5 separate regions of the Homo sapiens genome follow, and all the other regions are linked to region 4. Evidence: promoter capture Hi-C in 16 types of primary human blood cells and fetal thymus (Javierre and others, 2016). All regions are on one chromosome and are shown on one strand. Each heading gives the region's core, a stretch centred on a gene start or on the middle of the fragment in contact. The rest is flanking DNA. Distances are from core to core; before and after follow the strand shown.

Region 1 (5,634 bases), core at 2,927-5,426, 530 kb before region 4:
TCTTGGTTGAGGGTGGCATAGAAGAAAACCTCTTTCCCAGTCCCAGCCTCAGTTCCCAGCCCAGGTGTGGACCCTCAGCTCTGGGGAGGGCTGCACCGAGAGCCTTGCAGGTGCACTTCCCCATTTCCTCCCTCTCTTCAGATACCTGCCGGTATTTGCCTCTTCTGCTCCATGGCCTCAGGCCTTGGCTGTGTTCTGCGAGTTGAGGGAAGCATTTGAATGGGGAGGGCCTCATAGCCAGTCCCCATTTAAATGCTTTAGGAGTTCAATGTAATCTTTTGAAGTATGTATACATTGTGGAATACAGACAATGTAGAATGATTAAATCTAGCTAACTGACACGTGCATTACCTCACATGATAAACAGCAGTTTAGCTGTCAGTTAAAAAAAATCCCCCAAACCCCCAAATGCTTTGGGTGCTGACTCTAATCTGTGCAAATCACACAGTTCAGATTCCTGACCCCTGCCTGGGGCAGGGAGCATCTCTCCCTTCAAATAGCTCTTTTCAGCTGGCTATGGAAAGAGGTTTTAAGGAGAGAAATGTGCAAGGGGTGGTTCTGTTAAAGAAAAACTTAGTCAATGATACTCGTTAAAGTACAGTAAAGACTACTATCTTGATAGGTATAGGGACCACTGCAATGGAGTCTTGCATGTGGGAGAGAGATTGGGCTCAATTCCGAATACAGCGTGCACAGTGGGAATTCATAGCCAAGGAGCAGGGTGGAGGTCTGTGAATAGAAAATTACTAAGAGGAGCCATCAGGGTAAGAGAGATTCTGGTGAAACTGACCTAACAGGACTCTTGCTGAATACAGGCTAGGGTGATAGGCCACTCGGGGATGGTGGAGGGTGAGGAGCCTGATAAGGCTTGGAGGGTGATCAGATACCGAGGGGAAAGGGGTTTTTGCTAAGACTGGATTTTACAAGGAAGTGCACAGACGGGCCTTGCAGAACACTCAGAAGCCTGACCGAAGCTTGGACTAGTAAAGCCTCTTTGTCAGTTCCAATTGCCAAGGATTTTTTTTTTGTTTCCATAAGTGGCAAGGCAGAATAGCCAAGTATTTTCTGTTCCTTTATTCACAAGGAAAAGATGCTTTTCCACCCCAGCCCATGAGACCTGGGCTTGTCCTGGCTCACAGCCGGTGAGAGCGGGGACCCTGGAGGTCAGTGACCCTAACCCCTCAAGGTGACGGTGGCGGGGAAGCAAGTCCTGCCTGAGACTGCCCTCCTGAAGAGCTACATGGACCCCAGTGTGGCAGTTCGGTTTGTGACCTGAAGGCACTGGGGCCGCCCCTTCAGCCTTGCTGTCTGGACACTGTCCCACGCAGCCAGGGGCTGAGGGCAGAGATCCAGCTGCGTGGGTGTCGCTGCTGTGGAGGAGCCACAGGCGCCGCACAGGGAGGGAGCGTGGTGTCCGAGCTCGCTGCGCCCGGGTGTGGGTAGCACCCATTCTAGCTGCTGATTTTTTGCGAACCACGTTTCAGATCACTGTCCTGAGTTCCCATTTTAGGGCCAGATCTTGTCAGATCATCCTTTCAACCTGAAAACGCTGCTGGGGAAAGCCTCACTGGCCACTGCTTGCGCAGGCATTTCCAGTCTGGGCTCTGGCGTCCTGTGGGCTGTGTGAAGCCAGGAGTGTGGTTTTCAACTAAAACTCGGCGCTGACGCCACGTGACCGCGGCGGAGCCCAGCATCCAGCAGGACATGTGGGCAGAGGGGACCCCTGGGGCCGCCACCAGAATATTAAGCATTAGCAAGGCCTCCTGTCTTGAAATGTTGCGAAAATTAAGGGACAAGAGAGACCGAAGAATTGGATGCAGGAAAGTTTTTATTTTTAGGTGTACATTGGCTCAGTGGAATTGCATCCAGAAAATCTAAGCATAGATCAAAGAAAACGAATGTCTTTTAAGCATTTTGAGGCAGGAATTACGTGAAGCAGGAAGCAGGCTTACAGAAGCAAGAACAAAGTCCATTAATTATCTTGTGACACTTTTGCAACATGTCTTACATCTCTGGGAAAACTTAGTATGCAGCTTATGCTTATCTGTCTTGTGACCTTGCAGCTGTACAAGGAGGGAAGAAAACACAAGCTTACAGAGCCTACAAAATACCTGAAGGGCAGATATGGTTAATGTTTCTTGGGACTGGCAGTTAATATCCTTCTTTAACTCTAACTTCAGGGGGGCTACTTAAATTCTTTTTAGCCTTGGTTGGTACAGCAATTCATTCTATGAGCTATTATTTCTGTTACTATAATTTTACTATTATTACTTATGCTATTATCCTATTTTAATTTTCCACTTCATTCCCCCCTTTGGTGCTCTATATAAATGTTGGTTAATAGCACCACAGTTGTTTATTTTTTCTTGAGTCGGTACATATTATTCTTGGGGCAATACTTAGTCAATGCCATTATTTGAGTAGTAGTGTATTTGGCCACAACTGCCTCTATAGTTGACTGAACACTTCTGATGAGAAGAGGTAGGAGACAAGGGAGAATTAGGCAGGCACCTGTGATAAGCAGGAACCCACCTATTAAGGTTTTGAACCCACTAAAGGTTGAAAACCATCCTTCAAAGAGAGAATCTGGAGACCAACCTGACCAGGTTTGAACTGGAACTTGGGCTAACTTCCACATCCTGGCAGTAATTCCCATGACAGCTCGCCTATTGTCTATGTCTAAACAGCAGTTTGTTAGATTAAACTTCCCACATACTCCTCCTTCTGAGGCTAGGAGGTAATCTAGTGCCAGCCTGTTTTGATATATGGCATTCCTTATCTGTGTAGCTTGTACAGCTAGTAAATCTTGATGTTCATAGGTTCATCAAAAAGCTCTTGATGTTTCATAGGTTATTATTTCAAGAACAGCCTGTAACCTTATGATACAGTTGAGCATATAAATTGGGGTGTGGTATCCCCATTACCTATTTTGTGCCTAGGTAGCTGGCCCATAGTATTTAATGATTTTTTCAGGAGGCCATTGATTATTTTTCTAGTCTCCTATGTCTATGTCTTTTTTGATATTTATATTTATTTTTGAGATCATGCTCCTTTTAGTTCTTTTATTCTCATTATAGACTGGATATCCTAAGAGTTCCCCTTGCTTTAGAGGAATTAGAAAGAAGGATGGCTTGATTGTTCCTAATACACATGCTCTTGTCCATTTAGCTGGCAGTTGCTGATATGCCTGTGCTCCACAGATCCAATATAGGCCTTTTCCTGAACAAAAACAGTAACATAATAATAAGATAATCAGTATTACTAAGATCACTACTAGGCTTATAAGTTCTATCCACATTTACTTATCTAGTGAAGACTCCTCAAGCTTTGGCCATGCGTAGACTAGTCAGCTTCCAGTGTGTGACTACAGCAGGGTTTGACTTCTCAAGCTTCAGTTGTGCGTAGACTGACCAGCCTCCAGAGTGATCACAGCAGGGTGGTTGACTTTCTCAGTGGTGTCGTGGTTTTGCCACAGGATTAGTCATGTTGGATGGTCTGAGTCTTGTTGACTGGTTCACTGGTCCTGCGCAGCCAGCTTCAGTCGACTGTGATGAATCCAAGGTGTGATACCTGCAACTTTAACAGCAGTGGGAGTAGACAAGATTACAGTGTGGGCCCATCCCATATGGGCCCTAGTGTGGTTGGGTTCCATTTCTTAACCCAAACCAAGTCCCCAGGTGTAAAGGGGTGAACTGGGTCTGTTAGGCTTATAGGCAATTTTTCTCGTACCCAGCCATGAATCTTTTGCATAGCTAATCCTAAAGCTTGCATTTGCCTTTTTAAAGTTAGTTCCCCTAGTTCCCACAGATCACCTTTTACCTGATTTATAATCGGGGGTGGTCGGCCGAACACAATTTCACAGGGTGAAAGCCCAGTCAATTTGGTAAGGGTACACCTGACTTGGAGAAAGGCCATGGGCAAGACCTGATCCCACCTAAGATGAGGTTCTTGACAAAACTTCAGCAGATGTTTTAGTGTCTGGTTCATCCATTCTACCTTTCCTGAGCTCTGTGGGTGGTAGACTATGTGCAATTTCCACTTTATCTTTAGCAGCTGCGACAGCTGCTGAACTACTTCAGCCATGAATGCTGGGCCATTATCTGATCCTAAAGTTAGAGGCAGTCCAAACCTAGGAATAATGTCTTTTAGCAACACTCTGGTTACTTCTTGGGCTTTCTCTATCCTGGTAGGGAATGCCTTGACCCACCCTGAGAAAGTGCAAACAAACACTAGCATGTACTGATAACCCCGTGCTCGGGGCAGTTCGGTAAAGTCCACAAGCAAGTTTTCACAGGGTGTAGCTCCGGTCTCTTGAATCCCTGGGGGCTGAGTTGGCACTTGCCATGGATTGTTCTGGGCGCAGGTTAAACATTGCTCACAAACGGCTCGAGTGATGGCAGTAAGGCATGGCACATAGAAATGCCATCCTACAAGAGTTTCTAATGCAGTCTTTCCCATGTGTGTTCCCTGATGAAACTGCTTCATAAATTGGGGGGCTATTGCTTCCGGAATAGCTAGCCTCCCATCTGAGAACTTCCACCTGCCTCCTTGTATGTAACTTCCGCTCTCTTGTTCAAACCAAGCTTTTTCATTGGGAGAGTAGCTTGGGGTTTCAGGTAAGGAAGGTTCTAGTAGAAGCAGCAGGGTTGGGGTTTTCTTTTTAGTACTTGAGTTGGACATAGCTGCTTGTCTGGCTTCTCTGTCTGCCTTCCTATTTCCTTTTGCTTCTATGCCGCCTCTTGTCTGATGTCCTTTACAGTGAATAACGGCCACCTTGTCTGGGGCCCACACAGCTTCTAAGAGTTGTAAGATTTCTTCTTTAATTTCTTTCCCTCCAGCAGTTAAGAGTCCCCTTTCTTTGTAAATGGCTCCATGGGCATGTAATGTAGCAAAAGCATACTTTGAATCAGTATAGATATTAACTGTCCTTCCTTTGGCTACTAGTAGTGCTCTATTTAGAGCTATTCTGCTTTTTGTGCTGAGGTCCTGGTAGGGAGGGCCTGTGCCTTGGCTACTGAATTTAGAGTCACCCTGCGTACCCGGCTCTGCAGACCCCTTCTGATACAAACCTGCTTCCCTCTGTGAAATATTCAGCGTCTGGGTCCTTAAAGGGTTGGTCTCTTAAGTCTTTCCGGCTTGAGAACACCTCATCTACTACGTCTACGCAATAGCGTTGGGGAAACTGGTCTTGCAACTTCGACATTTCTACAGGCAACAGGGTAGCCGGGTTGAGGGTATTCGCGGTTTTTAAAGTTACGTATGGATTTCCACATAAGAGCCCCTGATATCTTAACATTCTTGGATTAGATAGCCAGTGATATATCCTCTTTGCTCCATTAAGGTGATCACTGTGTGTGGCACCCGTATTATTAGCTTTTGTCCTGGTGTCAGCTTCCAGCATTTTCTGCCAGCATGGCAGTGGCAGCTAATGCTTTTAAGCAGGGGGGCCACCCCAGGGCCACAAGGTCTAACCGCTTTGATAAATAGGCTACTGGTCAATACCATGATCCTACTGTTTGAACTGAAACTCCTGTAGTCATTCCTTTTCTTTCATGGACATAGAAAAAGAAAGGCTTAGTCAGGTCTGGCAATCCCAGGGCTCGAGCTTGGCTTAAGGCCTTTTTGATCTCATTA
Region 2 (5,683 bases), core at 1,136-3,635, 870 kb before region 4:
GGAGTCTCGCTCTGTCACCCAGGCTGGAGTGCAGTGGCGTGGTCTCAGCTCACTGCCAGGGTTCACGCCATTCTCCTGCCTCAGCCTCCCAAGTAGCTGGGACTACAGGTGTCCGCCACCATGCCCATGCCTGGCTAATTTTTTATAATTTTTGTAGAGATGGGGTTTCATCATGTTGCCCAGGCTGGTCTCGAACTCCTGAGCTCAACTGATCCACCTGCCTCGGCCTCCCAAAGTGCTGGGATTCTAGGCGTGATCCATCATGCCCAGCCTTGGATTTTGTCTTTATCTTATATTTTAATATTTTGTTCATCATGGATTTTTTGCATTAACTTTGACTTTTTAAAATGTTTTATCTAAACATTATTGACCTTAATTACTGAGTTTTTAAATGTTTGCTTAAATTTTATACCCTAGGGCCAGGCACGGTAGCTCATGCCTGAAATCCCAGAACTTTGGGAGGCTGAGGAGGGAGGACTGCTTGAGGCCAGGAGTCTGAGACCAGCCTGGGCAACATAGTGAGACCTCATCTCTATAAAACATAAAAAACTTAGTCGGGCATGGTGGTGCTGCATGCCTGCAGTTGGGAGGCTGTGGTGGGAGGATTCCTTGAGCCCAGGAGTTCAAGATCTTAGTTACAGCGTGCTATGATCATGCTACCGCACTCCAGCCTAGGCAAGACCCTGTCTCTAAATAATAATAATAAAAAATAAAATAAATAAAAATTTTTAAAATGTTGTGCCCAAGGCAAACGCTGCCTTACTCCCCTAACCTAGTCCCAGCCCTGCCCTGGTCCAAGCCATGCATTATCTCCAGGCTGCACTTCTGCAGTAGTGTCCTCACTGGTCTCTCCACTTCTCCATTCACCGCCTATCTCTGATCTACTTGCCACATGACAGCCCCAGTGGTCTTTTGAAAAGATAAATTGAGTCGTGTCACTCTCCAGCTTCAAATCATTCAATTGTCTCTTATCCAAACTTCATGTAAAGCCCTGCATAATCTGGATTTTACTTCCTTCCTTAACCTCATCTCCTACCACTCTGCCTTTGTGTTCTCTGACCCAACTTCACAGGCTAACTTTCCATTCCTGGAATATGCTCAACTTCTTCCTGCTTCGGGTCTTGGCATAGGCCATTCATTAAATGGATAATCTCTTCAAATCCTTTTAATCTCAGATTAAGTCATCTCTTCAGAGAGGCTTTCCAATCTAAAGTAAATCCCTTCCTGATATTTCTCTTATCATTCTGTTCTTTGTCCTTCCTAATACTTTGACAGTATAAGTAATTTGCTTATTATTTTACTTGTGGTCTGTCTCTCCTTTTCAACCCTAAGATCTCTGAGTTTAGTGTTTTGTTTACCACCATATACCCAATATTTAACACTCAAATACTAAGTAAGTGATTAAAACTAACTAAATAACAGAAAAAAACCCACAAAATTAATGGGTTTTTGGAAAAAAAAAAAAAAGTCCCACGAATAAAGTGGCTTTAGAATGCATTAATATTAAAGCAATCTAGCCATAACAAGGGTCATGAAACTGATCATTTCCTTTGGCCTAGTACAGGGGTGTCCAATCTTTTGGCTTCCCTGGGCCACATTAGAAGAAGAATAATTGTCTTGGGACACACATAACATATACTAACACAAAGGATAGCTGAAACAAAAATATCACAAAAAAAAATCTCATAATGTTTTAAGAAAGTTTATGAATTTGTGTGGGGCCACATTCAAAGCTATCCTGGACCCCATGTGGCCTGTGGGCTGCAGGTTGGACAAGCTTGGCCTAGCAAGTCTATATTTGAGAATATATCCCAAGAATGTAACTTGAAAATGATGTTATTTATTTAAAATATCTAGCTGGGTGTGGTGGTTCATGCCTGCAGTTCTAGCGACTCTGGAGGCTGAGGCAGAAGGATCACTTAAGGCAAGGAGTTTGAGAACAGCCTGGATAGTATAGTGAGACTCCCACCTCCAAGACAAAAAATCTAGGTCAGATGCAGTGGCTCATGACTGTAATTACACCACTTTGAGAGGCAGAAGTGGGTGCATCACTTGGGCCAGGGGTTTGAGAACAGCCTGGGCATCATGGGGAAACCCTGTCTCTACCAAAAAATACAAAAATTAGCCAGATGTGGTGGTGTGCACCTGTAGTCCCACCTACTCAGGAGGCTGAGGCGGGAGGATTGCTTGAGCCCAGGAGGTAGAGGTTGCAGTGAGCTGAGATTGTACTATATTGCATTCCAGCCTGTGTGACACAGTGAGACGCTGTCTCAAAAAAAATTAAAATTAAAATCTATATATTAATAATTTTAAAAGGCTTAAAAAATGGGAAACAATCTATAATTCTGGTTGCCCCTTAACCCTCTCTTGTTTTTATTGTCCTCCTCCAGCCTAGATAAACCCAACTGTACGTAGTTTCTTTGGCAGAAACCAAGCAAATAAACATTATTAAGAAAAATCACTAAGTTGGGGAAGACATAATCACTATGATTTTTAAATTCACGAGTCTCAAATGAGAAGCCATTATTTCCCTGAAATCCTGCTGTTTTTCTGATAAAGTTGCTCTGCTTTCTACAGATGCTATTTCAATATTCGCCATTCTCCTTTTACTAAAGGAGCCACTATCTACAAGGCCATTGAAGCCCGAAAATCTGAGAGTCATTGATGAGAACTTCATGTGCAGTACATCACCAAGTCCTATTATTTCAACTCCAAAAAAATATATCTTGAATTCATCACCTTTTTTTCCCCCTATCTTTACTGCTACCACCACATTCAGAACTACCATCTGGATGACTGAAATATTCTCTTCATTAGTTGTTCCATTTTCATTTTTGCCTTTCTCCAATCCATTCTCCACAAAGCTGAGTGATCTATTTTTTAAAAATGTATAAAACGAATTCATATGCAAAAAAACCAATGAAGCAATTTATAAAGAAAATGTTTTTTTTCTTTTTTAAAAATCAACTTCCTCAGGTTGAAGAAAAGCTTTTGTTTTTGCTTTTTCCATTTTGTTTTGAGACAGGGTCTCTGTTGCCCACGATCACAGCTCACTGCAGAATTGCTGGGTCGACCTCCTAGGCTCAAAGGATCCTCCCACCTCAGCCTCCCAAGTAGCTGGGACTACAGCCATGGGCCACTAAGCCTGGTTAATTTATAAAGCAAATATTATGCTTTCCCTCTATGCCTATCTAATTACAATCCTCCCAGGTAACCAACACACACTAAATGTTTGATGTGTAATGAATCCTTCTATTCTTTTTTCTGTGATTATATAGAAATCTATTTGTATTATTTTGCACTGGTTCTTTTCATTTCTAAAAAATGTATTACATTACACAATATATTACGTTATAATGTATTTATTTATTCTTTACCTGATAAACATATCATGGGCATTCCTCCAGGTCAATATGTCATTCTTTCCCTTTCTTTTTTTCATATAGCCACGTAATATTCCAGAAAATGGAAGCACTGAAATTAAATTTATAACTTTCCCATTGATGGACATTGGGTGGCATTGTCTTTTCAAGAAGTCAGTCAGATCATGACTCTTTCCTCCATAGGCTTTCCTTTTCCTGTGATATAAGAGCTGTGTTTCCTATCTACAAGGGCCTGGATAATCTGGCCCTTGCCTTTCTTTATATTTATTTATTTATTTATTTTTGAGACAGAGTCTCACTCTGTTGCCCAGGCTGGAGTGCAGGGGCGTGTTCTCGACTACTGCAACCTCCACCTTCTGGGCTTAAGCGATTCTTGTGCCTCAGCCTTCCAAGCAGCGGGGACTACAGGCGTGCACCACCATGTCTGGCTAATTTTTTTTTTTTATTTGAGACAGAGTCTTGCTCTGTTGCCCAGGCTAGAGTGCAATGGCACAATCTCAGCTCACTGCAAGCTCCGCCTCCTGGGTTCATGCCATTCTCCTGCCTCAGCCTCCCTAGTAGCTGGGACTACAGGCGCCCACCACCATGTCTGGCTAATTTTTTATGTTTTTTTTTTTAGTAGAGATGGGGTTTCACCGTATTAGCCAGGATGGTCTCGATCTCCTGACCTCGTGATCCGCCCACCTTGGCCTCCCAAAATGCTGGGATTACAGGCGTGAGCCACTGTGCCCAGCAATTTTTGTATTTTTAGTAGATACCAGCTTTCACCATGTTGGCCAGGCTGGTCTTGAACTCCTGACCTCAAACAATCCACCCACCTTGGCCTCCCAAAGTGTTGGGATTACAGGCATGAGCCACTATGCCCGGCCTGGCCCTTGCCTTTCTCTAAATTCACCTCATGCCACCCTTCCCCTTACTCACCATAGTCCATATACACCTTCTGGTGAGGCTTTTTTTGTTTTGTTTTTGTTTTTGTTTTGAGATGAGGTCTCACTCTGTCACCCAGGCTGGAGTGCAGTGGCACAATCTTGGCTCACTGCAGCCCCAACCTCCCAGGCTCAAGCGATCCTCCCACCTCAGCCCCCCTGAGTAGTTGGGACAATAGATGTGTGCCACCACGCCCGGCTTATTTTTTGTATTTTTGGTGGGTTTTGGCAGGTTGCCTAGGCTGGTTTTGGCAGGTTTGGCAGGTTGCCTAGGCTGGTCTCGAACTCCTCGGCTCAAGTCAGCTTGCCTCTGCCTCCCAAAGTGCTGGGATTACAGGCATGAGTCACCATGCCTGGCCATGGTGAGGTTTGTTTGTTTTTTGAGACAGAGTTTCGGTCTTGTTGTCCAGGCTGGAGTGCAGTGGCGTGATCTTGGCTCACTGCAACCTCCACCTCCTGGGTTCAAGCAATTCTCCTGCCTCAGCTTCCTGAGTAGCTGGGATTACAGGCACCTGCCACCACACTTGGCTAATTTTTTTGGTATTTTTAGTAGAGACGGGGTTTCACCATGTTGGCCAGGTTGGTCTTGAACCCCTGACCTCAGGTGATCCACCCGCCTTGGCCTCCCAGAGTGCTGGGATTACAGGTGTGAGCTATCGTGCCCAGCCTGTGGTGAGTGTTTTTTTTAACCACCTCCTGTCTCTGCATATTCTCCACTCTCAACCTGGTAAAGACTACCCTCCTCTCCCCACCAATCTAAATTAGGCTCCCCTCTTAAACTTTCTCATAACATCCTTTATACATCTTCTTAGTACTCATGACCAATTGTAATCATATATATGAAATTCTGTTTATATGCTTGTAGTTATTTATTTATATGATTATTTAATCTCTGCTTTTTCTACTAGGCATTATGCTCTATGAGGACAGGGACCATGTTTTGCTGACCATTGTTTTGCTATACCACCAGCATTGAGCACAATGCCTAAAGGCAAAATAGATTTGTTAAGTGAATAGATAGGTTCCACACTTAGGAATCATTAGGTAAGCAAAGTAATACAACTGAATGTTTTTTGTTTTGTTTTGTTTTGTTTTGAGACAGAGTCTCACTCTGTTGCCCAGGCTGGAGGACAATGACATGATCATGGCTTACTGCGGCCTCAACTTCCAAGCCCAAGTGATCCTCCCACCTGAGCCTCCCAAGTAGCTGGAACCACAGGCAGGCACCACCATACCCAGCTGTTTTTCAAATTTTATCTTTGTAGAGACAGAGTCTCCCTAGGTTGCCCAGGCTAGCCTTGAACTTCTAGCCTCAAACAGTTCTCCCGCCCCAGCCTCCCAAAGTCCTAGGATTACAGGCATGAGTCACCACAC
Region 3 (5,476 bases), core at 395-2,894, 510 kb before region 4:
TCCACTCTAGTGTCATGTCTCTGAGGAACAGTCTTCAGTTTTGTTATTTTGATACACAGTAGGGGCTCTTTTTTTTGTTTTTTTTTTTTAAATGAGCGAATGAAAATGCTACATAGGCTCCCTGAGTTCTTTCATGTACGAATCCTGGTTACACATCTTAGGACAGCAGAGCTGCCTGAGGGAGGGTTGTGTTTAATGTCGTATGCATGCTCAGCACAGTGCTGGCATGGCCCATCCATGCTTTCTGTTGAACTATGGACAGAATTCAGGAACTTGTGTATGGAGAGGGTGGAAGTCAGTCCTCGCTTCTTTCCCTAAACATTTTGCAGTGACAGCATATGGATCTTTGGTTGGAAACCCCATGACACTCTTCTCTACTTCCCCATGGGCCTTCCCTGGTTTTTGTTTTTCTTTTCTTAAACAATCCTGGTAATGACACTTCCACCACAATGAGCTTTTAAATGTCCTTTAATGATAAGCCAGTGTTTCCTTCAGAGGGCAAAGGGGAGACTGCTGAGTCACTGTGGCCATTTTTAGATAAACCTTTTCCTGTTTATAATAACACATGCTGATTGTAGGAAACTAGAAAATACATGAAAGTGCAGAGAAAAGACTAAAAGTCATCTATACTTCAGGTCGTAGAAATAACCACTCTGAACAGCACACTTCTTTTTACACTATTGTTTTACACTGTTGGGATTACATAAATATATATGTTTGTATCCCACTTTGTGAACATCATTCTATGTGAACTAGAAATGGTTCCTAAACATTAAGGGCTGCATATAGCTGTATCATAGTTTATAGTTTATACATAGATGCTTTGTAACATTATTTTATAATGCTATGAATGCTATGGTGAATATTTTTGTGAATCAACTTATGTTTCCACCAGCAGTTTCAGAGAGTGCCTGTCTCATCCCATCCTCCCCAGTATTGCATATTCTTGAGTCTTTTATTCTTTGATAATGACAAATGATGAATCATTGATAGTTTTTCTTCATAATAAGTAAAGTTTAACATTTTCAAGTGTTTGTTGACCATCTGTATTTCTTCTTTTGTGAAGTGCTGTCAGTTCTTTTGCTATTTTAAAAATAATTTTGAGTTTCAGTTTTTGTTTGTTGGTCTGTATGAACCCTTTAAAAATAAAGGCTGTTAGCCTTTTGCCATCTTAGTTGTGACAGTAAAGTATAATGCTTTGCTGCACTAGGTCCTCTGGAACAAGATGCAGATTTAGATTCCAGGTCAGCATGTAACTTGACCACTGTCACTCAAGAGTTACAGCCTGAGCAGGGCCTTAGGAGGGAGATGATTTCTGCTTAAAGGCGATACAAATTCCTAGTTAGGGAAATAGAAGGAAAGTATTCTCAGGAGATTAATTTAAGGCAGCTTTTTTGTTGGTTTAAGCACCTCTAACATTTTCATACTAATAAGGGAGAATGGGATGGCGGCTGAAAGAGACACAAATATTGTATCATTTAATTCTAAATTATGTATTTGTCAGGTTCTTATTGAAAGAGTAAATTTTCGAAAGGATCAAGATGGCTATCTAAACACAGGTAGTATGTGCCTCCACCATGGTGAGAAACCAGAATAGTAAGTGGATCCATTTTGAACAGATTGTCTAGGAGAGAATGCTAGGATAAACCAGAAAAGATATGGGAAACATGAGAAGTAAGGAGAGGATTCGAGGCAGCTTGCCCAGCTGGGAACCGACTGAGAGTCGGGAGAGGCTCCTGATGTGGGGAAACAGTAAGAGAGAACCCCCTAGGGCTCCAAAACAAACTTTTATAATCTTGGCCACGGAAGGAAACCTCGACCCACTGGGCCAGGGCCTGGGCCTGACATTCGGAGCTGCCTAAACATTGCACAGAGGCATTGCTCCAGAAAGGAAACCAATACAAAATCTCACATGCATCTGAACCTGGAGCAGCCTCAGCAGGGTGCCATTTTGAGAGCCTAGATACTGGGACTCTACAGACATGGCTCTTGCTGCCGAGCTGCTTCAAGGAGGGAGACGGGAGAGCAGGTGCTCCCATGCACCCCTGGGAGGGTCTGCTGCCCTGCTGTGGGCTGCTATTGAGACAGATGTGAGTAGACACCCCTCCCCACAGCTTCTTTTCCACACTGCTTGTCTGGGAGGGACACTCTCTGATCCCAGGCCCAAGGTAGCATTTTGAGAGTTTAATGCTGGGCTGCATTCCCCTCCCAGCCTGAGTTTGGGCTGATGAGGCTGTAGCTGCCTCTTGGCTAAGGAAGGATAGGGAAATCAGGCCATCCTACACATATCTAGGACAAGACCCCCTGCCCTGCCATGGGCTGCTGTGAGACCGAGATGTGGCCATCCTGTGTGTTCCACAGCTTGTTGCCAATGCTGCTTACTTGTGAGGTGCTCCTCCCTCTCTGGTCTCAGGCTCCAGGTGCTATTTTGAGAGTTTAATGTTGGGCAGCACCCCTCCCTGGAACTGAGATTGGGCTGGTGCAGCTGTAGCTGCCACCCAGCCAAGGATTAACAGGGAAATCAGGCTGTCCTATGCACATCTAGGTCAATACCCACTGCTCTGCAACATGCTGCTGTTGAGACTGAAATGTGAGCAGACTGCCTTCCCTACAGCTTCTTGCCCATGCTGCCTGCCTGGAGGGACCCCTGCCCTCCTGGTCACAGGCCCAAGGTGCCATTTTGAGAGTTTAATGCTGGGCTGTGCCCCACCTTCTTGCTGAGTTCAACTTGATGTGGCTGAAGCTGCTGCCCAGTCAAGGAGAAACAAGGAATCTATGCTCTCCCGCACATACCTAGGACAATACCCAGTGCCTGCTACGGGTTGCTGTGAGACCGAGACTCAAGTAGACCACCCTCCCTACAGCTTCTTGACCATGCTGCTCACCTGATAGGGGCCCCACCTTCTCTGTTCACAAGCCCACAGCTGGCACCATTTTGAGAGTTTAATGCTGATTCATAACCAGTCTGAATTAACAATCAGGCAATGTGGCTGCAGCTGCCACCCTGGTAGGAAAGGGACAGGGAAGACCAAGCTCTCCTAAGCACACTTAGAACAGTGCCCACCACCCTGCTACAGGTGGCTGTGAGACTGGGGAGTAGCTCACCCAACCCATCACAGCTTCCAGCAACACCAACATGGACTGCTTGGATCCCAGTTGGCTGCTTCAACAGTGCTACTGCCATCACTCACATGACACCACCTGCTCAGGGGCTAGAGATCATGCCCACACACTGGGCTCACCACTCCCACTACTAGCTTCTAAGCAAGCCATGTGGAGGCCCAAGAATCAGCCCTCCAAGACCCACTAACCACCAGAGCAGCGTAAGCTGCTGTGGGGCCTAAAAAGGGCACACTTACCCCACTGTTGCCACCACTGGGGTCCAAAGGCTGCTCAGTTGGCATCCAAGTCCCAGCTAAACTTCTGGGGACTTAGTCTCAGCTAATTACCATACTCTATCCCACTGAGGAAATCACAGAGAACACTGACCCTATGCCGAAGAAGTCATAGAAAGATCACACGACTGCAGGCATCCAAAATCAAAGTCAAAGCATCTTAACAACATGCATATATCCTCAGGAAAAAATTCTCCCTTATAAAAGCAATTTCAAAAAATTGGAACAAGCAACTGCTACACCAGACGCAAAGAAATCAATGGAAGGATACAGGAAACATGTAAAAGCAGAGAAACATGACACCATTGTATTAGTCCATTTTCACACTGCTGATAAAGACATACCTGAGACTGGGAAGAAAAAGAGGTTTAATTGGACTTACAGTTCCACATGGCTAGGGAGGCCTCAGAATCCTGGCAGGAGGTGAAACACACTTCTTATATGGTGGTGGCAAGAGAAAATGAGGAGGAAGCAAAAGCAGAAACCCTGATGAACCCATCGGTTCTCATGAGACTTATTCACTATCACGAGAATAGCATGGGAAAGACCAGCCCCCATGATTCAGTTACCTCCCCTGGCGTCCCCTCTCACAACATGTGGGAATTATGGGAGCTACAATTCAAGTTGAGATTTGGGTGGGGACACAGTCAAACCGTAACAATCATCAAAGAACCACAACAGCTGTCCAGCAGCAGCAGATCCCAATCAAAGAGAATTCTTCAAAATGCTAGATAAAGAATTCAAAATATTGATTTTAAAGAAGCTCAATGAAGTGCAAGAGAAATCTGAAAACTAATACAAAGAAATCAGAAAATTAATCCAGGATATAAATGAGAAATTTATCAAGGAGATAGACATCTTAAATAAAAACAAGCAGAAATTCTGGAACTAAAAAATTCATTGAAGGAAATACACCATATGCTCAAAAACTTCAACAGTAGACTACACCAAGCAGAAGAAAGAATCTCAGAACTCGAAGACAGGACTTTTGAAATAATCCAGTCAGACAAAAATGAGGAAAAAAGGATAAAAAAGAATGAATAAAGCCTTTGAGATGTCTGGGACTGCAAGAAGCAACTGAACTTATGAATTATTGGTATTTCTGAGGGGGAAGAGAGATTAGAAAGTTTAGAAAACATATTTAAAGAAATAGACATCCAGATACAGGAGGCCCAGTGATCCCCAGGAAAATACATTGCAAAAGGACCTCACCATGGCATATTCAAAATGTCTGAAGTCAAGTGAAAGAAAGAATTTTAAAATTAGCAAAAGTGACTAGTCACCTATAAAGGAAATCCCAAATCTCATCAGACCAATTGAGGACTTTTCAGCAGAATTCTTACATGCCAGAAAACAATGGGATGGCATTTTCAAAGTGCTAAAGGGAAAAAAAAAAACAGTGTGTCTGTCAGCCAAGAATTTTGTATCCTGCCAGAATAAGCTTTATAAAAGGAGAAATAAAGTCCTTCCCATACAAGCAAATGCTGAGGGAATTTGTCACCACTAGACTGGTACTACAGGAAATGCTCAAAAGGATCTTAAACACTGAAATGAATGGTGTTTTTAATTAATTATTTTTGATAGAGGGTCTTGCTTTGTCACTCAACCTGGAATACAGTAGTGCAATCACAGTTCATTGCAGCCTTGACCTCGTGGGCTCAAGCAATCTTCCTGCCTCAGCCTTTTGAGTAGCTAGAAATACAGACATGTGCCACCATGCCCGGTTAATTTTTAATTTTTTTGTAGAGACAAGATCTTGCTATTTTGCCCCGGTTGGTCTTGACCACCTTCCATCAATTAATGCCCCTGCCTGGCATCAATTAATCCCCCTGCCTAGCATCCCAAAGCACTGGGATTAAAGGCATGAGCCACGATGCCCAGCCAAAAGGTTGATATTCACCATCACAAAAACATACAGAAGTATAAAACTCATAGTTTGTATAAAACAATCATACAAAGGAAGAGAAAGGAATCAAATGGCAACATGACAGAGTTTCATCAAAACACAAAGTCAAAAAGGCAAAGACAAAGAGTCTATAAAACAACCTGAAAACAATAAACAATATAACAGAAACAAAGTC
Region 4 (5,355 bases), core at 1,004-3,503:
GCTTTTGGTGACAGCTACCCTATGTACTCTGATGTGATTATGCATTGCATGCCTATGTCAAAATATCTCATGTAACCCATAAATATATACACCTACTAGGTACCCACAAAAATTAAAAATTAAAAAACAAGAATATATCCTTGAAGCTGGGAACTTTTACTTGCTAATAGATGGTACAGAATTTACTGCAATGAGATTCTGCTTGTATACTAATAATTTTTACTTTAAAACAGACTTTAAATACAGAGTTTATATCTCAGATATAATTTAATGCAACATCTGCTTTCTAAAGATGCAAAAATCGAGATGGTAGGATCGCTTGAGCCCAGGAGGCAGAGGTGGAGGTTGCAGTGAGCAGAGATTGCGCCACTGCCCTCCAGCCTGGGCAACAGAGCGAGACCCTGTCTCAAAAAAAAAATGCAAAAATTAAGAGTCACAGTTGAAATGATTTGTTTAAGATCACACAAATAGTAACAGTTTCAGGACTAAAGCCAATGTTCTTGATTTCTAACTCAGAGCTCCTTCCACTATGACACTGTTTGAATTATGCTTCTCTGAAGTCCACCACCAACTGGGGAGCATCTGCGGTGTATGAGGTGCTACTGGAATACAAAGATGGCTAAGAAAGAGCTATTCCCTGGACTCACGGGAGGCAGTTCAAAAAAAAAGAAGGCCGGGCGCGGTAGCTCACACCTGTAATCCCAGCACTTTGGGAGGCCGAGGCAGGCAGATCACCTGAGGTCAGGAATTCGAGACCAGCCTGGCCAACATGGTGAAATCCTGTCTCTACTAAAAACACAAAATTAGCTGGGCGTGGGGGCGCATGCCTGTAATCCCAGCTACTCGGGAGGCTGAGGCAGGAGAATCGATTGAATCCAGGAGGCGGAGGTTGCGGTGAGCCAATATCGCGCCATTGCACTCCAGCCTGGGCAACAGAAGCGAAACTCCGTCTGAAAACAAAACAAAAAAAAAACCAAAACAAAAGAAAGAAAGAAAGAAAAAAGACAAGGCCAGGCACGGTGGCTCACGCCTGTAATCCCAGCACTTTGGGAGGCCGAGGCAGGCAGATCACCTGAGGTCAGGAGTTCAAGACCACCCTGGCCAACATGGTGAAACCCCGTCTCTACTAAAAATACAAAAATCAGCCAGGCGTGGTGGCCTATGCTTGTAATCCCAGCTACTTGGGAGGCTGAGGCAGGAGAATCACTTGAACCCGGTAGGCGGAGGTTGCAGTGAACCGAGATCGAGCCACTGCAGTCGCTCCAGCCTGGGCGACAGAGCGAGACTCCGTTTCAAAAAAAATAAAAAATAAAAGACAAATTGACATGAGTTCTGCTTTCACTATTAAAAAACCTTTAGTACCTACAGGTGAAACTTAGCTTTTGATTTTTCCCCTTCTTGGAAAGAGTCTGCATTTAGTCAGCTAACATTCTAGTACCACTCACAAGCTAAAGATCTTCCGTAATTTGCAAGGGAGGCAGTAGGGGGATGAGAGTTATAAGTTAGCTAACAACCAACTATTCTTTAAAGCTTAACTGTGAACTTAACTGCAATTATGCATTTCATTGACCTTCTCTAGTGTAATACCAGCTCGTCCCTTAGAAAAGAGGAAAATACACTTACGTTTTTATTTCTAGTGGTTCTAAGAACTTGTGATTTGGCTCCAGATTCCTACATGAAAACACTGCATATATTCACCTCCTTCTCTTTTCACCGCATTCGAGTTTTTCTGTCTACTACACAAAATGATAGATAGGGCCAGGTCTGCCAGAACCCTAAATACAGCGGCATCGCCCTGCTTCCTTCCAGGGGATCTTACTATTGGAAGGGCTCTGCTACACAGTACCTCAGACATCCAGAAGAGAGTTTATCTTCCCTCCAACTTCTATATATTCTTGCCATAAGGACAGCACTACCAAAGCGGGCTCCTCCTCTCAGTTGACAGAACGGTGACTGCCTGCGAGGCTCATTCTGAGATAGGGACAAGGGAAAGGGACCGGGGCGATAAGTGAGGGTCCCAGCTTGAGGGCTGGAGTGGGCACCAGACTCCCACCAACGACTAAACCGGGGGAAGTAAAGAAACTGGCCTTCCCCGCACCCAAAAATAAAACATCACATCACTAAAAAATGTAAACGTTCGCAACATTTTCTAAAACAAAGCCACTCACCTGCAAAGGGGCCACCAGCAGCAGCAGCAGCAGCAGCAGCCGCTCCTCCGAGCCGCCAAAGAGCCAGCGCCTCCTAGGACTCATCACTGCCGCCGGCATCGACGCTCTTTTCTAGCCCCTGAACCAGACGTGGGCAGGTCCTAGGGCTCTGCCTATTGGAAAGTCGAACTGTCACTCATCCACGGTCCCGGCCTACTCCCGGAACAGGAGAGGTCTCTTCCGTTTACCAAATCCCAGGAGTAAGAAGTGGGGCTCTGATTGGTTTACTCTAGAGACGAGCACATACCTGAACCAGTAAGGAGTTGGCTTCGACGCCAGCGGGCAGGCTTGGGCCTAGGGAAGTAGAAAAACACACCCTAGAGCGTCGCTGGTGCAAAACCTCGGGTGCGGGGAGCATCTTAGCTGTTTGAGGTTCTAGAAAGCGTTTAACGTCTTAAAAGAAACACCTGCGGGTGAAGACAGGTGTCAGCGGACTCTTGGAAGAGAGGAGGTGATGTTTCTTTTACTTATGGGAAATTTAGGGATTGAAACCTGAAGACGAAGCCGAGGTATCCTCCCAGAAGAAGCTCCTTTCGCACAAATTACTCGTGGTTGAAAGTCTTAAGTCGTGATTAAAACAAATGCCTTTAAAGTGCCCAATTTATAGGCAGTAACGCAACCTTACTTTCTCTTACCGCTTTTATAGGGATTCCCCTAGGCAGTTTGCTGACAGTATTTTAGGTGGGGAAGAAAAGTGATTAATGGAATGCCCTAAAAGCTTATTGCACAGAGGAAGGGAGGCTAGAGTGGAATGAGAGAATGACAAATTTGGAGGCGACAATAACTGAACAAGAGAAATCTATGAAAACACCGGAAACCTGGCACGAGGCCTTAAAAGCTTCTAAGCAGGCTTGAACTACCACACGAGGTTTTGAAGCATATGTGTCAGAACTCTTGGGTGGGCGGGAAAGATAAGGAATGTTATGGGAGATTCCCTTCTTAGAAGCTATCCTAAGTAGTGTTTCGTGTCCTCCTGTGAGTTTTTCCTGTTTCATCCTCCTAACAAATGCATTAGGTTTGTGACACGCAAGCAAGTCCTCAGAATAAATTATACATACAGTTGAAAAGATAATCTTTCCACATTTGAAATTCTGTGACACACTCTTTATTGAACTCATTAAGACCTAATCGTAGCCAGTTCTGTATCTCATTTATCCATGTTAGAGCATGACAGTTCCTCCTGGGATATCAACAGAACTTTACTTCCGGGACGGCACTAATCCGAGGCTTGACAGGTCCCAGCAGGTGATAGGTCTCACCTAGTGATAGTTAGAATTTAACTTGCACAAGATTAACTAGAGTTCAGGCCAGAACAGCTGGAAGGGGCAGCTTCCAAATCTTATACATTTGCCCTCTTGCTTTTTTCTCAATATCAGTTGAGGACAAAGTAAGGAGAAAGCTTTTCTTCTACAGTGTAATAAAGCTCCTATTCAGAGTGCCCACCATCCATACTCCGGAGGCTAATGACAGTCATTACCAAGTGACAGTCTTGTGGCATTTGGCATTTAGGGCTACTTAGTCTGGACTTAAGGGCGCCTACTCATTGGATTTAAGTTTACTGTTGTTATGGACACCCATGGAATGCTAGCTTGTCACATAAAACCTTAATATCAAACATCACTTGCCTTTTAGAATCATTCGCAAGAGTATGTGGCTTATGAATGAGTCATTTTGATATAAGATGGAAGCTTATATCAGTGATTCTGTCTAGAAGGAATTAAAAAGCAGATTTTCATCAGGAGCAAGCATGTTTGTAAGACAAATGTGCACAGAGGCTAACAGAATTTCAGGAGTTACTTTTGCCCTATGGCAAGATTGTTCTCCATACTTAATTATGTTACAGTATCATATCCTGAACCCTGTGTCCTGGTCTATTCGATGAGCTGTCTCTCTTATGAATTTTTAAATAACGAGGTCGTGGTTCACAAAGATGATCATAAATCCATTTAAGGCAAAGATGAACTCCAAAGAATATTAGACTTGTACAAACTTAGTACTTGACAGGGCTTTGGAAATTAAACTCTAGCTCCTTGTTGTACAGATAAAGAAACTGAAGCTTAAGTGATGTGCTCAGAATTACTTGGTTGGGGACAAATCCTGGGCTAGGACCCAAGGTTGCTAATTCATATAATTCTGGGAAGATGCTTCCTCTTCCTGCTGCCTTCTCCTCCTCACCCCAAAAGCAATGTATTTTTTAAATTAAGATTAATTTTAGGATTCACTTCCATTGAAGACCAGTCATGAGGACTTCAGTTCTGATACAGCAAGTGATATAGATACTATGAAAATAATTCAGTGTCATCAAACAGCTTTTGATGTAGTCTCACTTTTATCCAAACAAGAAATGAAAAGCAATAAATTATTATAGCTATGTTGTCTCTTTGTCTTCCTTTCTGTTACAGGTGTATATCAAAAAGTCAGTATTAACCCATGTGATACTTTGAGTTTTAGTTGAAAATTGTCTTCCTTGTGACCTGAATAAACCACTATTTTATTGATAGCATACATACCTGGTCAAAATAATTTCACAGTTATGTGCACAGAGCCTCTAGCCTTTTCCACGTATGGCTGAATTGGTCCACCGTGCATCAAAACATCATCCACGGACCTAGGCTATTCTCCCTTTTGCTAGCCTAGCAGAACCATTGGCTCCCTCCTTCCAGCAAACTCCAGAGTTAGCTAGTTCTATATGCCATGTACAGGAGTGTCTCCTTTTCTTCACAGTATCAGGACACACCATGAGTTGGTTATTTGCTGCCAGTGTTTAGTCTCCAACTGTACCCTACTTACTTCAGGGTCAGATTAAAATTTACCACTCGTAACCTAGTATAATAGACCTATGCGTGGCCCCCATCATTGACCTCCTAAGTACAAGACTCCCTTTTCTGAAACTAAAAACTGGAAATGCTGTTATGGGTCAGCCATCCAGACCTCTCAGAAGGGACCTTAAAGTCTGTCCCTTTCTTTCAGAAGTTAAAACTTAGAATCCTCATCTTCCTCACAGAGTAGGGTGAAGAATCATGGAGGCAGTTTTGGAATAGCTTTGCAATCTTTGAAGCACCTTGTGTCTGTCACTTTCCAGCACTGGGAACTCAGGGGCTTAATTGGACTTACAGTTCCATGTGGCTGGGGAAGCCTCACAATCATA
Region 5 (5,758 bases), core at 203-2,702, 590 kb before region 4:
GATGATTGTCCACCTGCTGTGGTCTGAATGTTTGTGTCCCCCCAAAATTTAGTATGTTGAGACCCAATCCCCAATATGATAGTATTAAGAGGTGGGGGCTTTTGGAAGGTGATTAAGGTGATTGGTGCCCTTATAAAAGAGTCCTGAGGGAACCTGTTTGTCTTTCCCCCATGTGAGAACACAGCAAGATAGCCCTGTCTATGAACCAGAGAGCATGCCCTCACCAGACACCCAATCTGATGGCACCTTTGTCTTGGACTTCACAGGCTTCAGAACCTGGAGCAATAAACTTCTGTTGTTTATAAATTACCCTGTCTAGGGCATTTGTCGCTACCCCAGCAGAAGTGGCAGCTCCAGGCCAGTCCCTGCCTTGCAACACAGTCCCTCCACCTGTGAAAACGTCTCCTTCCCCGTGGAGATGTCCCCTCTCCTCCTCCAGGTCCCCATACCTTTGAGGCTATGAGATCAGACTGAGAGTACACTGTCTTCCTGAGGTTGTTGAAGAGCGCTGCCAGGGTGGCTCGGTGGCGGGCCTGGGACAGCCGTCTCCGGGCCACCCGATGCTCAAGCTCCTGCAGCTGTGCTGGCAGCTGGGGTGTTGCTCTGTCATGGGGATTGCTGTTTTCTTCAGGGGTTGCCATTATAAGCTGTAATGTAATAGTATGCTTTTTTTTTTGCCCTAGATAATAAAAATACAATATTAAAGGAAAAGGAAGGCAAATTGAGGCAGGCAGAAAGGAGGTACCCTTCCCAAGTAAAGGCCCCAAATTCACTCCCTCATGAATTCAGTTATTGGCAAGATTTACAGTGAGAGAAATTTGAGAAGTTTACAAAAGCCCTTTGAAGGTGATGTTGGTCAATTGCTAATTAAGAAAAGCAGATGGAGATTATACAGGGTCAACACAAATTCTGTTTTTGAAATTCAACTCCTAAAACTGCAAACCACCCATATAGGACTTAAGAGTTGAGGGGCCCTGGAACTTACCTGGAAAGGTTCCAACACATTGCAGATACTCACCAGACACTTGTTAATTTCAGGGGTTAATTTTACGCGTGGCCAAGGAGAGCAGCTGTACCCTGAGATCTCAGGCTTTACTTTAGTCTGTTCAAAGCTGAACAGGTACTTGTCCCCACTGTGAGGTCTTTTCTACCTCAAGAATGCCCCCTCTTTGATGTGGATAGTAGTTACACAGGTGTATGCATATGAAAAAAAAATCCCTCAAGGGGTACACTTTAGACTCGAGAATTTTTCTGTGATATACCTCAAGGAAAAACATAAAAAAGAAAATAAGAAAATTCACTTTACCACCTGTGCAAGCAAAAGTCACCTGACGACAGAGAACTGAAACCCATTTTGCCTTATCTTGCCTCTAGTGGGTTCTGGAGATGATCACTGTGTCCTTCTTTGTTACATCTGAGCTTACAAGCCAGAAGCCCTTCCCTAGGAGAGGCGATTCTGGGACTGACATGTAATTGTTTTAATAAGATACAGGGGCCAGGGCCTTTTACCTGAGCCATAGACCCTTCCATCAGGCCTCACCCCACTACTCAGAGATCTACTCCCCACTAGCCTGTCTGCTCTTTGGACAGGGAGGCTGCGACTTCGTCACTTCTGTACCCTCAGTGCGTAACACAGAGCCTGGCCCCCATTAGGTGCTCAGTACTGGAGTTTCTGGTGAATTACAGTGAGCGGTTTCTGCTAGGTCTACTCCCTGCTGAGCTCAGTCCATACAGAGACAATGCATGACCTCCGCCAGGGGTTTGTTAATTTTGAGGTATGTTAGTGTCACCTGCAGAGACTGTTGAAAATACACATGCCCAGGCCCTGCCTTGAAAACATCGGATCTGAACCCAGCGTGCAGCTCCCAGGGTGATTCCTATACTTTCACACTTTGAGAGCCACCGCTAACTCTTGATTTGTGTGTCAAGCATCACCCCAGCTGGCAGCAGCTGGAAACAATCTTCATTAAGGGGTTATGAGGAAGGGAGATGGAAGACACCTTTCCCACTATGCTATAGTATGGAAAATAGGCCAATGAGATGGTAAACCCAATCAGGCAGTGTGGGATGTTGAAACACTTTTTAGCTCAGAAAACAACTTCTCATCAATAATCTGGTCTTCCCCAGTGTATCAACTTTCCCTTGTTTTGCTTTTTGGAACAGGGCAGGAAGATGGGAACAGTGATGCTGTGGTTGCCCATGCTGGTCCGTGCATGTCTCTGTCACATCTGTTACCAGGAATTACACTGTGGTATCTTCCAAGGGAAAACAGCACCAATCTGCAGAGGCCCCTCAAGCCCAGCTCCAGGGTTATGTTAGATTAGAGCCTATGCCTTCATGGTCTTCAATTCCAGATACCAACTAATCTTTAATAGGAAGCAAAGTGAAACTGTGAAGATTTTGAACTGCCCAGGGAAAATGAGAACCTTTTGAACAGAAGAATATAGGTTTTTTTTGTTTTTTGTTTTTACTTGTTTAAATTAAGGAGCAACAGATGTGTCTGGACACCAGGGGATTTAGGTTAACATACAGAAAAAGGGAAGCGGGTGGGAAGCACTGTTCTAGATGAACAGAGATATAAAAATAACAGGGTCCTCCCAGGACCTCAAGTTCTCTAACAGTCTCAGGATACTAACACCAAAGGCCTCTGGGCTTGTAGGGAATCTGGAGTTCTCCCAATGCCAGTGCTGGGTGTCCTCCCTTCTGCCCAAACACGCTCAGCCTGAAATTCCTGGATGGCTGTGTGGACAGTTTCAGCCCTGGACAAGAGTGCAGTCCTCTGCCTCCCCCATAGGGGGCAGACTTCCCACCAGTCGCCTCTAGGAGCCGCCAGGGCTGCTCGCCCCTAGGGGCGGGGACAGCCCCAGAGCATGCTGGCCAAGCTGCCTGGAGCCGTGGCCTCCATCTTGCCTGCCCCCAGGCGCCCCCTGGTCAGGAGCTGGGGGAAATTTACACCCCCGCCCCCCCTTGGCTCAGGGAGGGGGCACACCGCAGGAAAGATGGGAGATGACCCTCCTACTCTGCTTTAAGGGCAGAATCAAGCGCTGGAGATGTTACTCTTAATTAGACCTTGAGCGATTTTCAATGTCTTCCCTCTAGATCCTGCCTCCTGTTCACTACTAGGAACCACTGTGCTATGTATGATCCGCACAAGGCATTCTTTCCTAGTTATTTCGATTGACTTGGAATTTTTTCCGTCTCTGTGGCCCTGACAGGGTCTTAGGTAGATCTTTGTTAGACTGAGCTCTTTTTTTTTTGTTTTGTTTTTTGTTTTGAGATGGAGTCTGGCTCTGTCGCCTGGGTTGGAGTGCAGTGGCGTGATCTCGGCTCACTGCAACCTCTGCCTCCCGGGTTCAAGCGATTCTCCTGCCTCAGCCTCCTGAGTAGCTGGGATTACAGGCGCCCACCACCACGACTGGCTAATTTTTGTATTTTTAGTAGAGACGGGGTTTCACCGTGTTGGTCAGGCTGGTCTCGAACTCCTGACCTCCTGATCCGCCTGCCTCGGCCTCCCAAAGTGCAAGGTTTACAGGTGTGAGCCACCACGCCCGGTGGACAGAGCTCTTTTTATCTAATAATACACTTGGGTCTGTCCCGTCAGCACCTGTGATTTGTGTGAAGGGCTGGCTCGCCTGGAAGAAGTGCCTCAGAAGTTACTGTCTAGGATGGGGAGAGGAGGGCAGGACCCTCCGCCTTATTCCAAGATTAGCCGTTTGGCTAGGAAGGGGGAATGAAACATACTGTGAAAGGGGGAGCTAACTATTGTAAAAATGAGATCAAGAAGTGATCTGTTACTTAAAAACAAAACTCGGCTCTCCTAAAAGCCCTCTGCAGTTGCAAAGTATGTCAAAGAAACTGCTCCCAGCAGTGTAAGGAATTATAGCAGTGTAGAGAAAACAGTCTGGAACTCTCCTCCCTAGGGCCTGGAACTGCATTTTAATAGCCTTGAAAACTCAGAATCTCCCAATTACCCCTTTGGTTTGCTCCCCTGCTCACCAATATTTATTCCATGACCCACTGCCCCTTCTTCCATCTATAATACCATCTCTCTCTGCCCCTGTCTTCAGTTTCTATGGATCTAGAGCCAACTTGCCCTTCCCAGTTTAAGTCCCAATTCCTTTAATGAGCTTCCCAGTCCCAGGCCACACTGGTTTCTAACTCAATCATGTTCTGGCAACAACTAAGAAAAATCTTTGATCGGCACCTGTGTGTCAAGCATCAGTTGTGTCCCTCCCAGGAAGTGGTACCATGCATAGACATAGATGATTAACTCAAGCTTCCCTTTCTTGGCTGCCTCTCCCACACTAAAACCACTAAGAATTCTATTGCCTGGACTACTAAGACAAAAATCTCCCAAGCGTGGGGATGGGCAGAGACACTGGGTTGAATGAGCTAAAGGAAAATAAAGATTAAGAGAAAATCTTGGTGGGTGGAGGGGAAATAACATCTTAGTTCCACCCTAACCCGAAAGACCTCTCTGTATCTCATTGAGAAGCCTTCAAAAATCTCTTTCAAGGTGATGTTGGTCAATTGCTAATTAAGAAAGGTAGTGAAGATTATATAGGGTGAAGAAGCTGGATATCCTATCCAGACTTGGAAAACTGGGCATGCTTGGAGAGGTGAATGTGAATGTTTGGGCATCTAAAATGAGCAAGAATTGAGGGAACTCAGTACAGAGATAGTAGTTTGAAGGAAGCTAATCTTAAGGATGATGCAGAGACACAGTCAAAGATGGGATGAGCTGGTAAAGGGAAAGGCAAGTTGGGTTATGGATTGGCTTGATACCTGGGTCATAACCACATCTTCAGGCTAACCAACCTTGTGACTTTGTGATTTTGGATGAGGCAAGAAATCTCTCTAGTTCACACACACACACACACACACACATACACACACACATATATATATATAAAGATGGGGTCTCACTATGTTGCCCAGGCTGGTCTTAAATGCCTGGGTTCAAGTGAACCTCCCGCGTCAGCCTCCTAAAGTGTTGGCATTACAAACATGAGCCACCACCTCTGGGCTCTAGTTCTTAAGGTTTTTTTTTTTCCTATTTCTTTTGAGATAGGGTCTCGCTCCATTGACCAAGCTGGAGGGCAGTGGCAAGCTCATGGCTCATTGCAGCCTCAAACTCCTAGGCTCAAGTAATCCTTCCACCACATCCTCCTGAGTAGCTAGGACTACAGACGTGCACCACTGGGCCTGGTTAATTTTTCTGTAGAGACAGGGTCTCACTATGTTGCCCGGGTTGGTCTTGAACTCCTAGGCTCAAATGATCCTCCTATCTTGGCCTCCCAAAGTGCTGGCTTTACAGGCATGAGCCACCATGTTTGGCCTTAATTTCTTTATCTGCATAAAGGAGGTAAAAATTCTTTAACTAGATTATAGTCTGAACGTTTTTATTTTTAAAAGGTCATGATCAGCTGGGCGCGGTGGCTCACACCTGTAATCCCAGCATGTTGGGGGGCCAAGGCGGGTGAATCACCTGAGGTAAGGAGTTCAAGACCAGCCTGGCCAACATGGTGAAACCCCGTCTCTTACTAAAAATAGAAAAATTAGCTGGCGTGGTGGCAAGCAACTGTAATCTCAGTTACTCAGGAAGCTGAGGCAGGAGAATCACTTGAACCCAGGAGTTGGAGGTTGCAGTGAGCTGAGATCGTGCCACTGGACTCCAACCTGGGCCACAAGAGTGAAACTCTGTCTTAAAAAAAAAAAAAAAGTCATGCTCATGATTCTATGAGTATCTGGAGCAATA

Evidence for each region. Contacts are between HindIII fragments. The CHiCAGO score rates a contact against its expected background, and 5 or more counts as called.
Region 1: a fragment that was not itself captured here is called in contact with the fragment with the promoter of BPGM in region 4 in 13 of 17 cell types (naive CD4 T cells, naive CD8 T cells, total CD8 T cells and 10 more); the score reaches 18.0 in naive CD4 T cells.
Region 2: a fragment that was not itself captured here is called in contact with the fragment with the promoter of BPGM in region 4 in 2 of 17 cell types (fetal thymus and total CD8 T cells); the score reaches 6.1 in fetal thymus.
Region 3: a fragment that was not itself captured here is called in contact with the fragment with the promoter of BPGM in region 4 in 13 of 17 cell types (total CD8 T cells, naive CD4 T cells, non-activated CD4 T cells and 10 more); the score reaches 17.9 in total CD8 T cells.
Region 5: a contact is called between a fragment that was not itself captured here and the fragment with the promoter of BPGM in region 4, in 3 of 17 cell types (naive B cells, total B cells and neutrophils). The highest score is 7.6, in naive B cells.

The regions. Positions count from the first base shown.
Region 1 is chr7:135,178,138-135,183,771 of GRCh38, reverse strand. No RefSeq gene overlaps it. Among named protein-coding and RNA genes, the nearest start is that of CYREN, 10 kb to the right of the region's middle. The HindIII fragment of the contact is 819 bases long and covers 3,767-4,585 here.
Region 2 is chr7:135,512,530-135,518,212 of GRCh38, reverse strand. No RefSeq gene overlaps it. Among named protein-coding and RNA genes, the nearest start is that of CNOT4, 5.3 kb to the right of the region's middle. The HindIII fragment of the contact is 1,211 bases long and covers 1,780-2,990 here.
Region 3 is chr7:135,155,349-135,160,824 of GRCh38, reverse strand. All of the region lies in intron 1 of TMEM140 (transmembrane protein 140), which reads right to left. It also overlaps a transcript of CYREN not described here. Among named protein-coding and RNA genes, the nearest start is that of TMEM140, 10 kb to the right of the region's middle. The HindIII fragment of the contact is 6,388 bases long and covers 1-4,838 here.
Region 4 is chr7:134,643,751-134,649,105 of GRCh38, reverse strand. BPGM (bisphosphoglycerate mutase) reads right to left here and starts at 2,253. Exons shown (of 3, transcript NM_001724.5): 1 at 2,169-2,253. The region is part of intron 1 of LOC124901750 (a long non-coding RNA gene); the gene reads left to right. RefSeq lists enhancers at 1,917-2,026, 2,127-2,276. The HindIII fragment of the contact is 1,395 bases long and covers 1,533-2,927 here.
Region 5 is chr7:135,235,408-135,241,165 of GRCh38, reverse strand. STRA8 (stimulated by retinoic acid 8) reads right to left here. Exons shown (of 9, transcript NM_001394401.1): 2 at 450-647. The coding sequence starts at 641. Among named protein-coding and RNA genes, the nearest start is that of STRA8, 4.4 kb to the right of the region's middle. RefSeq lists an enhancer at 4,288-4,497. The HindIII fragment of the contact is 5,652 bases long and covers 1-4,278 here.